Linked DNA regions of Homo sapiens: region 2 is linked to region 1. Evidence: promoter capture Hi-C in human tissues and cell types (Jung and others, 2019). All regions are on one chromosome and are shown on one strand. The core of a region is centred on a gene start or on the middle of the fragment in contact, and the rest is flanking DNA. Distances in the headings are between cores, read along the strand shown. Region 1 holds the start of USP6 (ubiquitin specific peptidase 6). Region 2 overlaps ANKFY1 (ankyrin repeat and FYVE domain containing 1).

What was found. Contacts are between HindIII fragments. The study calls those that stand out against the background at their distance.
Region 2: a contact is called between a fragment that was not itself captured here and the fragment with the promoter of USP6 in region 1, in 1 of the 25 tissues and cell types used here (pancreas).

What each region holds. Positions count from the first base shown.
Region 1 is chr17:5,113,277-5,120,615 of GRCh38, reverse strand. USP6 (ubiquitin specific peptidase 6) reads right to left here and starts at 4,584. Exons shown (of 38, transcript NM_001304284.2): 1 at 3,876-4,584; 2 at 2,326-2,416. It overlaps ZNF232-AS1 (ZNF232 antisense RNA 1), which reads right to left. Exons shown (of 3, transcript NR_135658.1): 2 at 7,164-7,230; 3 at 6,234-6,458. It also overlaps a transcript of ZNF232 not described here. The HindIII fragment of the contact is 4,107 bases long and covers 3,899-7,339 here.
Region 2 is chr17:4,254,169-4,261,507 of GRCh38, reverse strand. All of the region lies in intron 1 of ANKFY1 (ankyrin repeat and FYVE domain containing 1), which reads left to right. Among named protein-coding and RNA genes, the nearest start is that of ANKFY1, 6.1 kb to the left of the region's middle. The HindIII fragment of the contact is 5,645 bases long and covers 605-6,249 here.

The sequences.
Region 1 (7,339 bases), core at 3,335-5,834:
GGACAGCAGGAGCTCACCCAAGGCCATCCTGGGGAAAGACCCTGGGGCCTGCCTTCTTTCCCTCGGAGAGACAGGTGCAGATGACAGACAGACAGACAGACAGACACAGATAGGCCAACAGCTCCTCACCCTGAAGGTGGAGGTGGATATTGTCATTACTCAAACATACAGGGCTATGAATATCAGCAACCTCCCACAACACACACTGTGACTCGGGACTGGACTTCACCCATCCCCAACAAGTGCTAAGCCCTGAGAGATAACAACCCCCCAGCACAGTGGAGGATGACCACAGGCGACCTCACTCACTGCCCTGACCTTGCCCCCACCACTGCCTTGCCCCCACCACCAACCCCACAGCACAGGCATGCAGAGAGCAACCCTACGTTGGTGTCACCGTGCCAGGCCCCATTAGCAAATGTTAATCTGCTGGAGGAAAGCAATGTATAACCAGCCTCAAAGCCAGGGGGAAACACCTTCCGGGTGTCCTGCTTCTTGGGGAGTAGGCTTCCCCAGCTTAGAGCAGCACAGAACTCGGCTGAGAAGGAAGCCACAGGAGAGGGCACGTAAGGCCTCCTGACTGCCCCGGCAGGACCTTGGATCTCTATCCTTGGGTTGAGCCTTGGAGTTCCTGGGACCTAGAACCTTCTGGAAAGGAGAGGCAGGAGAGGGGGCAGAGAGGTGGGGTGGATACAAGTCCGACAGACCTGAAGGAGGGGTCCCTGTGCAGCCGTAGATAAATCCCTTAACCTCTCTGAGCTTCAGTTTCTTCACGGGTCAAAAGGAAGAAAGAGTATCTTTCTCCCAGCTGTTTATCAGCTGAGATGATGGCTGTGAGTCACTTGTAGTGCTGGGCAGAAGTTCCTTGTTTTAATGACTATCACTATTATAATTAATTATAATAATTAGCATTGTGTGTTCTTACACTGAGTTACTCATTAGTTAGTTAACTGCAGTGAGCTGAGCCTCAAGGGACAAATGAAGTCTATTTGGGAAGAGGGGCTCCTCCAGGCCTCACCCAGGGTCCTCTGAGGGTCAGGGCTAGGCATCCATAAAAGATGGGAACTGGACTGGAAGCATGGCCCAGCCCAGGGGGTTTCTGGGCCCCAGCCTCGCTTGCTTCCAGGTGAATTTCTGCTGCATTCCCTGAGCTGACCTCACTTTAGTGGGGGCTGAAGAAGGACAAAAGAGTTAATTTTCAGATAATCAGGTAATTCATGAAATAAAAGCCCACCTATTCAAAGCTTTTATAGGTAGCAGAAGCTAATGTAGTAATGTCCAATTTGTAAACCTGAATTCCACAAAATAAAACCTACCTGTTAGGGAGCAGTCTACTTTGGAACTTTGAGAAAAGAGCCTAAATGATCAAAGTTTGCCTTCATAAGATTTTAAACAGCTAAAGAACCAAACTCCAAGAGGACCAAAACTGAGAAAAAGTCAGAGTCTGATAATCTCTTTGAGGAAGAGGGGTGATTGGAGTGTGGCTTAGGAGAGGTTTCTTCATATAAATACTTGATAGTGATAGAGGCAGGACATGAAGTTGAGAAATTCTAAGCAGATGTGGCAGGCCCCCAGTGAAACCCCATCTTTGAGCCGAAAAGCCTGAAACCCACAGCCCAAAGTGAGAACTTCTATTCCTGTTTGCTTACTCCCTCCCGATTGGTTCTTTCTGAATAATGTCTTCTTACCAATCAAATGTTGCCTTTTCCAAAAATACCTATGGCTGCCCCACCCTCATCCTGTGCCTATAAAGACCCCAGACTCAGTCAGTAGATGAGAGAGATGGCCAGACTTTCGGGAAGAAATGGCCAGACTTTGGGGAGAAGATGACCTGCCCTTTCTACCCCCTCTCTAGCTCCCCTCTCCGCTGAGAGCCACTGTGATCACTCTGTAAAATTCTCCACCTTCACCATCCTTCAAGTGCTCCACACAACCTCATTCTTTTTGGATGCCAGACAAGAGCTTGGGACCCACCAAGTTTGGCTACCCAAAAGGCTGTCACACTCACCCTTTGCCCTCACCAGTGGCAGGTAGCCACCCCACGCAATGGGGCTAGGGGCCAGCTGAGCTGTTAACACATACCCATCCTCAAACAGTGGCGCTAAGAGAGCACTGTAACACTCCCTCTGGGGATTTGGGATCACAGGCACCCCCACTTGGGCAGCACCGCAGACCCCAAATGGAGCTTGCTCCTGCAGCTGCCCAGAGCAGCCAGCTAGATCCTGCAGTCGTTTGCTCATGCCTGGTCTGGTCACAGGCTCCGCAAAGAGCTTGCTCATGCTGGTGCCTGTAGTGGCCAGCCAGATCCTGCACTTGCTCACTCACCTGCACACTCCTGCAAGAGGTTGAGCACAGTGGGCTGAGTAAACAGGGCACCCCTGTCTTGAGTCCCACGAAGGAATCAAGGAAAAAAATCCTGTATCAATAGGAAATAAGACTGTCACTACCATCCCTGAGGGAGAGAGCACATGACTATGGTAGAATAAGTGAATGCTAGCCAGTAATCTGCCAATATAGTCCACTTGTCTTGATTTTTTTTTTTTTTTTGAGACGGAGTCCCACTCTGTTGCCCAGGCTAGAGTGCAGTGGCATGATCTCGGCCCACTTCAATCTCCGCCTCCCAGGTTCAAGTGATTCTCCTGCCTCAGCCTCCTGAGGAGCTGGGAGGAGCTGGGATTACAGGTGCATGCCAGTACACCCAGCTAACACCATGTTAGCCAGCCTGGTCTTAAACTCCTGGTGATCTGCCTGCCTTGGCCTCCCAAAGTCCTGGGATTACAGGTGTGAGCCACCCCACCCGGCCTCACTTGTCTTGATTTTTAATGCCCTTAGAGTGAGGCCACCATCATCTCTTGCTTGTACTATTATCGCAGCCTCCTAACATGCCTCCCTGATTCCAACGCTTCTCTACAGGGCAGCTGGAATGTTCTTCCTTCAGAACAAATCTGATAGTGCCATCCCCCTCTCTAAATTTCCACAGTGATTTCCCACTAACTTCAGCCTGAAGTCCAAAGTCCTTATTGTGACATATATATTCTGATGCGACCCCATTTATTCACTTGTGCTGTAAATATTTATTGAGCTTTTTTTTTTTTTTTTTGAGACGGAGTCTCGCTCTGTCGCCCAGGCTGGAGTGCAGTGGTGCAATCTCAGCTCACTGCAACCTTTGCCTCCCGGGTTCAAGTGATTCTCCTGCCTCAGCCTCCTGAGTAGCTGGGATTACAGGTGTGTGCCTCCACACCCGGCTAATTTTTGTATTTTTTGTAGAGAGGGGGTTTCACCATGTTGGTCAGGCTGGTCTCAAACTCCTGACCTCATGATCCACCCGCCTCGGCCTCCCAAAGTGCTGGGATTAGAGGCTTGAGCCCCCTCGCCCAGGCTTATCGAGCTTTTAATATGTGTTAAGCAGCGGGTGCTACAAAGCAGGGTGAGCATAAATGGACAAGTCTCTGGCCTGATGGAACTTATAATTGTAGAAGAGAAACTAATTAGAATCATTAATAAAGTTGCAACCATAAGTGCCAAAAAGGAGAGGCATATGATACTACAGTGGGGAGTCTCACCTAGCTGGGGAAGGCTTTCTGCAAAGTACTTACCTTTCCTTCCTATTATTTACCCATGAACTCTCTGCAGTTCCCCAAGAATGTAGGCACCGCCCTCTTGCCCTGTGGCCTTTCCACGAGCTGTTCCCTCTGTGAAGATTGCTCCCTCCGTACCTAGCTCCATCACTTTTCAGTACTTGCTATGTGTTGGGTACCGTGATAAGCACTTACCATCAATTTTCTCTTGTATTTACCTCAGTGAGTGCAACTGTTAACCCTGTTTTATACATAAGAAACTACGCTCTAGAAAGGCAAATTTGCCCAAAGACTCACAACTAGTAAGTGAAGAAACGAATTCAAATTCCGGTCGGCCCGACTCGAAAGCGGTCTTGGCGGTACAGTCTTGGGTCTCCCAGTTCCTTCCTGTTCAGGCCTCACGTATCTGCCCGCCTTTCCTGACAGACCCCTGGTGAGGGTCTAGTGCCTCCACGGGCCACGGCCATCGTAAGGCAGCAACTGTAACTTGTCGCCCGCCCCACTAGGCTGAGCTCTTCCCGGACAGGCACTGGCCTTTTCCCTTTCGTCGGCTCAGTGACTCCAGGTAGACGCCCCTCAGACACCACACGAGACGGCGGCTCACATGGGCCAGAAGTGTTTCCCCTCTCCCCCAGCGGCTTGTCTAGGAAAACATGAGGACTCGGTTCGACTCGATGGTGCGGGCCTAAGCCCCGGGAAGCCGGGAGTGGTGAGGCGGGCCGCCGGGAGCGGGGCCGGGAGTGGTGAGGGGGGCCGCCCGGAGCGGGGCCGGGAGTGGCGTCGAGCAGAGAGCCCGCAGGCGGGAAGTCCTCTCAATGAGCGTCTCGAGCGCTGCCCGCGGCCCCTCCTGACTGCTAGTTGGAGCGGGGACAGCATGGGCGCGGCCGCCAAGGTAGCGTCGAGTGAGGGGAAGACTGATGGGCGCCTGGAGACGAGCTCCCACAGCGGCCACGCATTTGGAGCTGGGCGTCGGGGCCCGCCCGTCCCGCCGCGCCGCTAGCTGTCCCCTCTGCCTGGCCTCCGTGCCTTGCGCCCCTTTGTGCCGTCCAGCCCTACAGCTTTGAGGCCCTTTCGGCGCACGCACCCCGCCCCGATCCCCCGGCGCTATCCCAGCCTTGACGGCCGGGGAGGCTTTCCCTAGCCCGGCGCCTCGAGGACCGCCTCAGTGGCCAAAGGCGGCGCGGGGTGCGCCCGGGCTGTGTCCCCGGGAGGCTGGACCGCCAGTCCGCGCATGAGGCCATCTGTGAGGCACGAGTGCAGGAGAGTGAAGGAGACCGGGGCGTGCTGAGTAGGGACCTCCCTCAGTGACTGGAAGGTTATTCATGGGGCCTTCTGACACTCTAAAAACGAAATTTCTCCGGGGTTTGATGAGTATCAGGGTGGTGGCTTCTTGAGTTTTGAGCAGGCATCACAAATCAATCCCTCTGGAATACAGAACTGCCTCTGTTCCGTTTTGGGTTTTGTGTGTGTGTGTGTGTGTGTTTTTGGAGACGGAGTCTTGCTCTGTTGCCCAAGCCGGAGTGCAGTGGCGCCATCTCGGCTCACTGTAACCTCCGCCTCCCGGGTTAAAGCTGTTGTCCCGCCTCAGCCTCCCGAGTAGCTGGGATTACAGGCGCCCCCCACCACGCCAGGCTAATTTTGTATTTTTAGTAGAGAGAGGGTTTCACCATGTTGGCCAGGCTGGTCTTGAACTCCTGACCTCAGGTGATCCACTGGCCTCGGCCTCGCAAAGTGCTGGAATTACAGGCACGACCCACCACATCCGGCCCTCTGTTCCTTGTTTCGAAATAACTCAATTAAAAGTCAGAGGCTCACTGGCCACATCTCCTTCCACCCACCCACCGCCCCACCCCCCAAAAGATGCCTCTAGCAAATAAAATGAGACGTCCTGATGCCTTCCTGGCTCGTTCCAGAATTTTTAGCTTTGACTTTTGACGTGGGGTCCTTCTACCTAAAGTCCCCGCCGTCACATCAGCCCCCAGTTTTCCTCTGTCTTAGCTCGGGCTGCCGTAACAAAATACCATAGACTGGATGCCAGACAACAGAAATTTATTTTCTCAGTTTTGGAGGCTGCAAGGCTGTGACCAGGGCCCAACATGGTCAGGTTCTGGTGAGAGCTCCCTGGCTGCCTTCTCACAGGGTCCTCACATGGCAGAGAGAGAGGGACCCAAAGCCCTCTGGTGTCTTTTTTGTTTGTTTGTTATTTTTTGGGACGGAGTCTCACACTGCTGCCAGGCTGGAGTGCAGTGGCCCGATCTCGGCTCACTGCAACCTCCACCTCCCAGGTTCAAGTAATTCTCCAGCCCCAGCCTCCCAATTAGCTGGGATTACAGGCACCCACCACCACACCCGGCTAATTTTTGTATTTTTAGTAGAGAGGGGCTTTCACCATGCTGGCCAGGCTGGTCTCGAACTCCTGAGCCCAGCTGATCCACCCGCCTCGGTTTCCCAAAGTGCTGGGATTACAGGCGTGAGCCACTGCGCCTGGCCAGAACTCAGTCCTTACAGAACATCAGAGAATCCATACAAGGTGAGAGAGAGGCCTTATAAATGCATTGGGTGTGGGAAAGATTTGAAGGGGAGCTCACAACTTATTCAGCATCAAAGAATTCACAGTGGAAAGAAACTTTGTGAATGCAATGAATGTTCAAAGACTTGTAATCAGAGCTCACACTTTATTCGACATCATAGAATTCATAGTGGAGAAAAGCCCTATGAATGTGACAAGCATGGGAAAGCCTTCAGATGGAGCTCAGACCTTGTGAGGCATCTGGAAATTCATATTGGAGATAAAGTTTTGGAATGTAGCGAGCGTGGAAGAATTTTCAATCAGAGCTCAGGTCTAATGCAGCACCAAAGAAACCATACAGAATCATAACCCTAGGAAGACAGTAATGATAAAGATGTCAGTATGTACATATAGGAAGAGAGAAGGAGAGTTTGTTTTTGTCCTAACTATTTGGAAAATTGTAAGCTTCCTAAGAGCAATTTTCATCTGATTCAGTGTATAGTACTTAGTCTCAGGTCATGTGCAGATATGTCCTTCCCAAATGCTTACCACAAGATAAATCAGAAATCTTGACTGGAATAAGCTTCTAGTTCCTTTGCTTTATCATGAGAGGTTCCACACCACAGGAAAATCTTGTAAATGGTGGAAGCTGCATAAAGCACCATCATCATCACAAAATGGTGTCCTTGTGTGTCCTGTTTAGCAGCACCGAGAATCTAATAGCTTTCCCCTTGTCTGTTTTTCCTTACTATGAATTGTGCCAGGGGAACAGTAAAATGGGTATGATATCCTGAACTCTAGGGTGGATGTCTTTCTGGGACAGAATCTAATCCAAAAGTCTGCAAATGGACTTGAGGTTTTCACATTAGTATAAATGTCAATATGTAGTTTAGGGAATTTGCCTTATTCCTCCATTCCTAGCAAAATTAGATACAGAAGCAGCTAATTAAATCAGGAAAAGGAAACTGACAGTAAGTCATAGGACCCATTGTCTTCTCTCATGTAAAAGTAGAAGTTGTGATTCAATCTGTTCTGTAGGATTTAAAAGTATAATGGCACATTGAAGTTTGACATACTGAAATTCAGGCTCTGTCAATTTCATCTCTGTAACCTTTATTGTTTCTGAGTCTTGAGTTTTCTCATCTGTAAAATCAAGATAATGACATTAATACAATCCCTTGTGGAGCAACTGTGAAGACTAAATAAGACAATTTCATTAAGTTCCTGGCATAGTTCTAGACACGTAGTAGAC
Region 2 (7,339 bases), core at 2,178-4,677, 860 kb after region 1:
CTTTCTTTCCTTCCCTTCCCCTTTCCTTTTGAGGGAGTCTCGCTCTGTTGCCCAGGCGGGAGTGCAATAGCGCAATCTTGGCTCACCACAGCCTCCACCTCCTGGGTTCAAGCGATTCTTCCACCTCAGCATCCCAAGTAGCTGGGATTACAGGCACCCGCCATCATACCCGGCTAATTTTTGTAGAGATGGGGTTTCACTGTGTTGGCTAGGCTGGTCTTGAACTCCCAACCTCAGCTGATCTGCCGGCCTCGGCCTCCCAAAGTGCTGGGATTGCCGGTGTGAGCCACCACACCCGGCCGGCCACAGTTTTTCTTTTACCTCTTTTGTGTCCCAACTTTTTGTTGGGATTTAAGCTTTTTAGAAACGATGTTGCAGACTTCAACTAGGAGGCATTCTGGGTCATTTAGCTTATTAATCTGAAGGTGCTTGCTATGCAAAGGAAGGCAAGATTAGGTAGAAAATGTTTCTTGGGATATTAATACTACTGCTTGTGCTTTAATCAGATTCTCAGAGCCTGCTATGCTTGTTTGGAGACAGTTATTTAAATATAAATAAATAGCAGATATCTGTGTCATATAACTTGAATGATCTGTAAACACACTATGGGAACTTCCCTGATAATGGTTGGTTGGCCATGTGAGAATGTGGGAGATAGTGCCTAGGAATAGTAAATAGGATCGTGAGAGACTGAGGATACAGCTTCTTATGTGACTTGTTTAGAGAACAACCTTCTTTCCTTCCATCTATCCATGGCTATTCATTTGACCATATATATTTAGCTAAAGTCTGTCCTAAAATTAGTTTTATTCCCCAACTCTACATCTCTGTGGCTATCCTGCTTAATCTAAGCTTCATTTGTGGGTTTTTTTTTTTTTTTTTTTTTTTTGGAGACAGGATCTCACTCCGTCACCCAGGCTGGAGTACAATGGCGTGATCACAGCTCATTGCAATCTCCACCTCCCAGGCTCAAGTGATTCCCTCACTTCAGCCTCCCAAGTAGCTGGGAGTGCAGATGTGCATGCCACCACATTGGCTAATTTTTGTATTTTTTGTAGAGTTGGGGTTTTGTGATGTTGTCCAGGCTGGTCTTGAACTCCTGGGCTCAAGCCATTCACCTGCCTGGGCCTCCTGAAGTGCTGGGATTACAGGTGTGAGCCACCGCTCCCAGCCCTAAGCTTCGTTTGTAAGTGAACTACTTCAAAAGGTTCCAATTAAAAGTTTGCTTTTAACTTTTCCTCCTAGATTTTGCTCTCTCACAGCCTAATTTCACAGTTTCTAGTGTTCCCTTTAAGACATCAATCAGATCATGTCTCTCCTACTCTTCTTAATACTCCTGCCCCTCAATGCCCAACTCTCACACTTCTCCGTAATCTTAAAATATATTCCAGTTCTCTGTTAAGTATTAACAGGGTGTGGGCCCCACTTAACACTTCGAGCTTATTTCCTACTTTCATTCACTGTGCCCCTGCCACACTGACTTTTTTGCGTTCTTTGTGTGTGCCCGACATGCTGCTACCTCTGCGTCTTTGTCCCTGCAGTTTCCTTGGCCTGGAACAGTCCTCCGCTGTTTCTCCACACAACTGACCCACTTTATTCACTCAGTGTCTGTTCAGTTGTCATCTCATTAGAGAGCATCCCTCACTGGAATATAAACCCCATGAGGGCAGGAACTTGGTCTGTTTTGCTCACTCCTGTATCTCCCAGCTTAGAATCATGGCTGTGGTTGAAGGAATGTATGAATTTATTGAGCATCACCTGCTAGCCATCAAGAAAAGTTGCCTGGATACATCCTTAGCCTCTTGTCAAGCAAACTGGCTGGTCCACCTTTTATTATACTCTGCATAACCTAAGTCTGCTAGGAGCTACCTAACCTACTTTTCATCCAGCCCATTTTTGTTTTAGCAACTAAAATACAATGTTTAAGGCCGGGCACGGTGGCTCACGCCTGTAATCTCAGCACTTTGGGAGGCCAAGGTGGGCGGATCACTTGAGGTCAGGAGTTCCAGACCAGCCTGACCAACATGGTGGAACCCCATCTCTACTAAACATACAAAAATTAGCCAGGCATGGTGGCATGTGCCTGTAATCCCAGCTGCTCAGGAGACTTGAGTCAGGAGAATCACTTGAACCCGGAAGGTGGAGGTTGCAGTGATCCGAGATCGCGCCACCGCACTCCAGCCTGAGCAACAGAGACTGTCTCAAAAAATAATAATAATAAAATAAAATGTAGTGTTTAAGAGCTCAGACTCTGCAGCTGGACATGGATTTAAATCCTAGTTTAAGCTGTGATCATAAGCAAGTCAATTAATTGCTGTCAGTCTCAGTGTCCTCAGCTTTAAAAGGGGGATCATCTGTAGCTCACAAGTAGCTGTGGGAATCCTAGGATATTTCTCAGTTGCAGGAAGAGCCTTTTTCCACAGCGCCTAATGTTTCTTCCACAGCGACTGATGCTTTTCCCACAGCGCCTGATGCTTTCACCCTGGTGCACAGTCTTTCTCTTGAGTCTCCTCTAAAATCACTCTCCATTTCTTTTCCTCAGTAAAAGTAAAAATTGAAAAAAATGTAATTTTTTTGTAAATAGTATATTGAACAGAAAATTTATCATAAACTTTTGTTAGCTTGATGGAATTTGATCAGAAAAATACTTTTGACAACAACCCAAGCAAAATGGGGAAAACATTCCATGTCCTGGGTATTCATTGACCAACACAATAGTCACTAGCCACATGTGGCTACTTAAATTTGATTAAAATTAAATAAAATTTAAAATTAACTTCTCAGTTGTACTAGTCCTATTCCAAGTACTCAGTAGCCATGTGGCTAGTAGCTCCCCCTAATGGACAGCACAGATTAATAGAACACTTGCACCATTGCCAGAAGTGCTTTGGATAGTCCTGTTCCAGAAAATGCTTCATTAGTGGAGGCTGGTAGAAATAAGGAAAGAAGGAACTTTGCTGTTTCCACTTTTTTTTTTTTTTTTTGAGTTGGAGTCTGGCTCTGTCTCCCAGGCTGGAGTGCAGTGGTGCGATCTCGGCTCACTGCAAGCTCCCCTCCCAGGTTCACACCATTCTCCTATCTCAGCCTCCCGAGTAGCTGGGACTACAGGCGCCCGCCACCAAGCCTGGCTAATTTTTTGTATTTTTGGTAGAGATGAGGTTTCACCGTGTTAGCAAGGATGGTCTTGATCTCCTGACCTCGTGATCCGCCCGCCTCGGCCTCCCAAAGTGCTGGGATTACAGGCGTGAGCCACCGCGCCCGGCCCTACTTCTGAAATTTATCTGTTTATTGTTTTACTTATTGAACAAATGTCCCAGGTCATTGATAATTATATATAGTCCAGAGACCTCTTAAGGACTGTTCCTTTTATACCATTCTTTTCTTTTCTCTCCCTTTCCTGGTGACTACTGTCACCAGCTGTAGCTGTTAGCTTTCTCCTTGTGAATTATTTTTACTGAGAAATAAAATTTATCCATTAGTGGTTATGTCAAAGTAAAGCTACTGAATTGTGCTGAGATACACAGGATTCTGTCACTGGCAAGGTGATTTGCTGTAGGCAATTTGAGATACTATCATGATTTACAGCCTTGCTGAACCAAATGAGAAATTGCTATGTCCCCAGAATCTCCTGTTGAACCTGTGGTATTTATTGAACTCCATCTGGTAAGGTACTGTCGGGAGGAGGAGATAACCATGGAATGGGTATAGAGGGAGAAGTAATTGATAGTTAAATACGAATAGCCAGAACTAAAGCTTATTCACAGGGAGTTCTGAAGTCTAGGAGGGGAGATAAAAGAAATTGTATATGAGAAACTATATTTTAAGGTGAAGGGTAAAAAATGCTTAGGAGTTACTTTGAAAACTCAGGGAGAGATTTTTTAAGGAAGTAATGGGGAATGTATTTTGGATAATCAGGGAAAGTCTTGTTGCAGGAGACATTGCTTGAACTGAGCTTTGAAAAATGGCCCTCCTTTGGACATGGGGACATGAGATTGAGGAGAGGTCACTGTTCTAGGTGGAAGGAATTAGTGGGATGTGAAGTTGGAAGAGTATGTTAAGGGCCAGATTATTAAGGGCATTGGTTCAGCATTTGGATTTTATTCTGAGACTCATGGAGCGATACTACCGAAAGGAATCAGCCACGGTAGCGACAGAACAGGAATTGTGTGAGGCATGGCGAAATGACTGCAGTGTAGAGGATGGATTGGGAAGAAAGGAAGTCAGAGAGCAAGCTGTAGCAGTTGATGGTGAGCCATTTGGTAGAGGCTGTGGGGCTGGTGAGGACTGATGGGAGAAAGACCACAGAACGTATGAAAGACAGGACTTTTGAAACCTGGTTGAATGTTGATGAGAGAGAATCAAAGATGACTCAAGTTCTAGGTCTGGATGACTCAGACAAATGGCTGAGCTGCTAAGAGGTAGAGGAGGAATAGATTGGAGAACAAGTATTTTGACCTCACTTTTGGACATATTTGCTTTGCCCAGTATACTTCTATGTGGTGATGTCTAAGTTGGAAGTGTTTCCAGTCAGGAGTTTGGGGTGGAAATGGCTAGTTAGCTAATATTTGTTATGCATCTCTTATGAAACCAGCCCAATTGTCACTGCTATACACGGTGAGCTTTTGAAAGATGTGTAAGTCATGCCACCAACTGTAACATGAGGCAGACGAACCTAGCAGAGTTGAATTGCATTCAGGAAAAACGTATTTCACGGTAGGTGCAAGCTACTGTGCCAGAGATGACAAAATGAGCAAGACACAACCTTAACCTTAATGGAACTTGCAGAACAGAGAGGGGAAGGCAAAGTATTTCAAATAAGCATGCATGTTGCTTTCTAGTTATACCAGGTTTTCTCTTCTATATTCATGATTAATGGCACTACTTTTCAGCCAGACTCTCAAGTCAGTCACCAAAAAGTTATCTCCGACTCCCCCCAAGATCTGCATCAGTCACCAAATCCCCCGGATGCTGTACACCTCTCACATCTGTGCTTTCCTCTCTCCCTCGTTCCATTAGTACATAGTTCTCAACCTGGAGAACCCTGCACAGTACAGTTAACCTGGGAGTTTTTTCTTTTTTTGAGATGGAGTCTCGCTCTATTGCCCAGGCTGGAGTGCAGTGGTGCGATCTCAGCTCACTGCAGGCTCCACCTCCCGGGTTCACGCCGTTCTCCTGCCTCCGCCTCCTGAGTAGCTGGGACTACAGGCGCCCGCCACTGCGCCTGGCTAATTTTTTGTATTTTTAATAGAGACGGGGTTTCACTCTGTTAGCCAGGATGGTCTCGATCTCCTCAGTTCGTAATCCGCCCGCCTTGGCCTCCCAAAGTGCTGGGATTACAGGCATGAGCCACCGCGCCTGGCCACCTGGGAGCTTTTAAACATCCATATTTGTGGGCTGGGCGTGGTGCCTCACACCTGTAATCCCAGCACTTTGGGAGGCCGAGGCGGGCAGGTCACAAGATCAGGAGTTTGAGACTAGCCTGAGCAACATGGTGAAACCCCGTCTCTACTAAAAATACAAAAATTAGCCAGGCTTGGTGGTGCACTCCTGTAATCCTAGCTATTCGGGAGGCTGAGGCAGAAGAATTGCTTGAACCTGGGAAGCGGAGGTTGCAGTGAGCTGAGATCGCGCCATTGCACTCCAGCTTGGGCGACAAGAGTGAGACTCCGTTTCAAAAGAAAAAAAAAAAAGAAAAGTAGTAGTGGTGGTAATTAATCACCAGTGAAGAGCTTTTCTAATCTGATGCCAAGGAAGATAGTATTTTCTGGGAAGCTGACACTTTAATGAAATATTTTTTTGTGGAAGATCCTAATATAAGCCTGGAACAAAAAATTATTCTTGTAGTTCTCCAAATAGAATGTTATCACAGCCTTTACAATCATTTCTCTTTTATCTAATGGACATAGTTAAAGCAGAATAGGTATAAAGTCATTTAGTCATTAAAGAATTACATGAAGAGACTGGGCACGGTGGCTTATGCCTGTAATCCCAGCACTTTGGGAGGCCGAGGCCAGGGGATCACCTCAGGTCAGGAGTTCAAGACCAGCCTGGCCAACATGGCGAAATCCTGTCTCTGCTAAGAATACAAAAAAATTAGCTGGGCATGGTGGCAGGCGCCTGTAATCTCAGCTGCTTCAGGAGGCTGAGGCAGGAGGATTGCTTGAACCCGGGAGGCAGAGGTTGCCATGAGCCAAGATCACACCATTGCACTCCAGTCTGGGCGACAAGAGAAACTCTTGTCTCAAAAAAAAAAAAAAAAAAAAAGAATTACATGAAGAACACTAATTCATTGCTAAAGTTTTGGCTAGAATAGAAGAACTATAGGAGTGTAGAGAAAGGAAATGCCAGGGTGATGTGAATCTAGAAAGACTGAATACAGTGTGGGTTAGAACTGGAGTGGCTGGAGGGGAGTAGAGTGCATTTACTATAGGAAATGAAGGAGCTCATTTAATTCCTGGATTAATTAATGACTAATCTTGGTGTTCTGATACTGGAGCTGAAATCTGGCATCATGGTGTTAATGGGATGCGTTCTGGCTTAAGACCACAAATCTTGAGTCTGTCTTCTGCTAATTGTGTGATTTTAGGCAACTCACTTAAGTGAGTTTCACTGTTAGTATATTACTTTTTCAATATAGTTAGAATCTGAGATGATGAATGTGAAGAACTTAACTGCCATAGGAGACATAAAAAATATTAATTCCCACTTTCTGTCTTATTGCAAAATATTACAGGAAAGTGTACATTTCCTTTTACTCCATAGAATGATGTTGACACTAATCTAGCAAAAAGTTACTAGGGCATTAAAATCTTTTACTATACAGAATTTTTTGTTTGTAAGTATAGGTGTTTTAGTTTCATGTGGCTGCTGTAACAGATTTCCACAAGCTAGATGGCTTAAAACAACAGAAACGTGTTCTTATGATTCTGGATGACAGAAGTCTGATTGAAATCAGTATCACTGGGCTCAAATCAAGGTCTCAGTAGGGCCCTATTCCCTCTGGAGGCTCTAGGAGAAAATCTTTTTCCTGATTCTTCCACCTGCAAGAGGCTGCTGACATTCCTTGGCTATTGGCTGCATCATTCCAGTCTTCAAGGACAGCATCTTCAAATTTCTCTCTGTTCTGTGTTCACAAGACCTACTCTGAGTGGGTCAGACTCCCTCTGTGCCTTCCTTTTTTTTTTTTTTTTTTTTTTTTTTTTTTGAGATGGAGTCTCACTCTGTGGTCCAGGCTGGAGTGCAGTGGTGCGATCTTGGCTCATTGCAACCTCCGCCTCCCAGGTTCAGGCGATTCTCCTGCCTCAGCCTCCCGAGTAGCTGGGACTACAGGCGCCTGCCA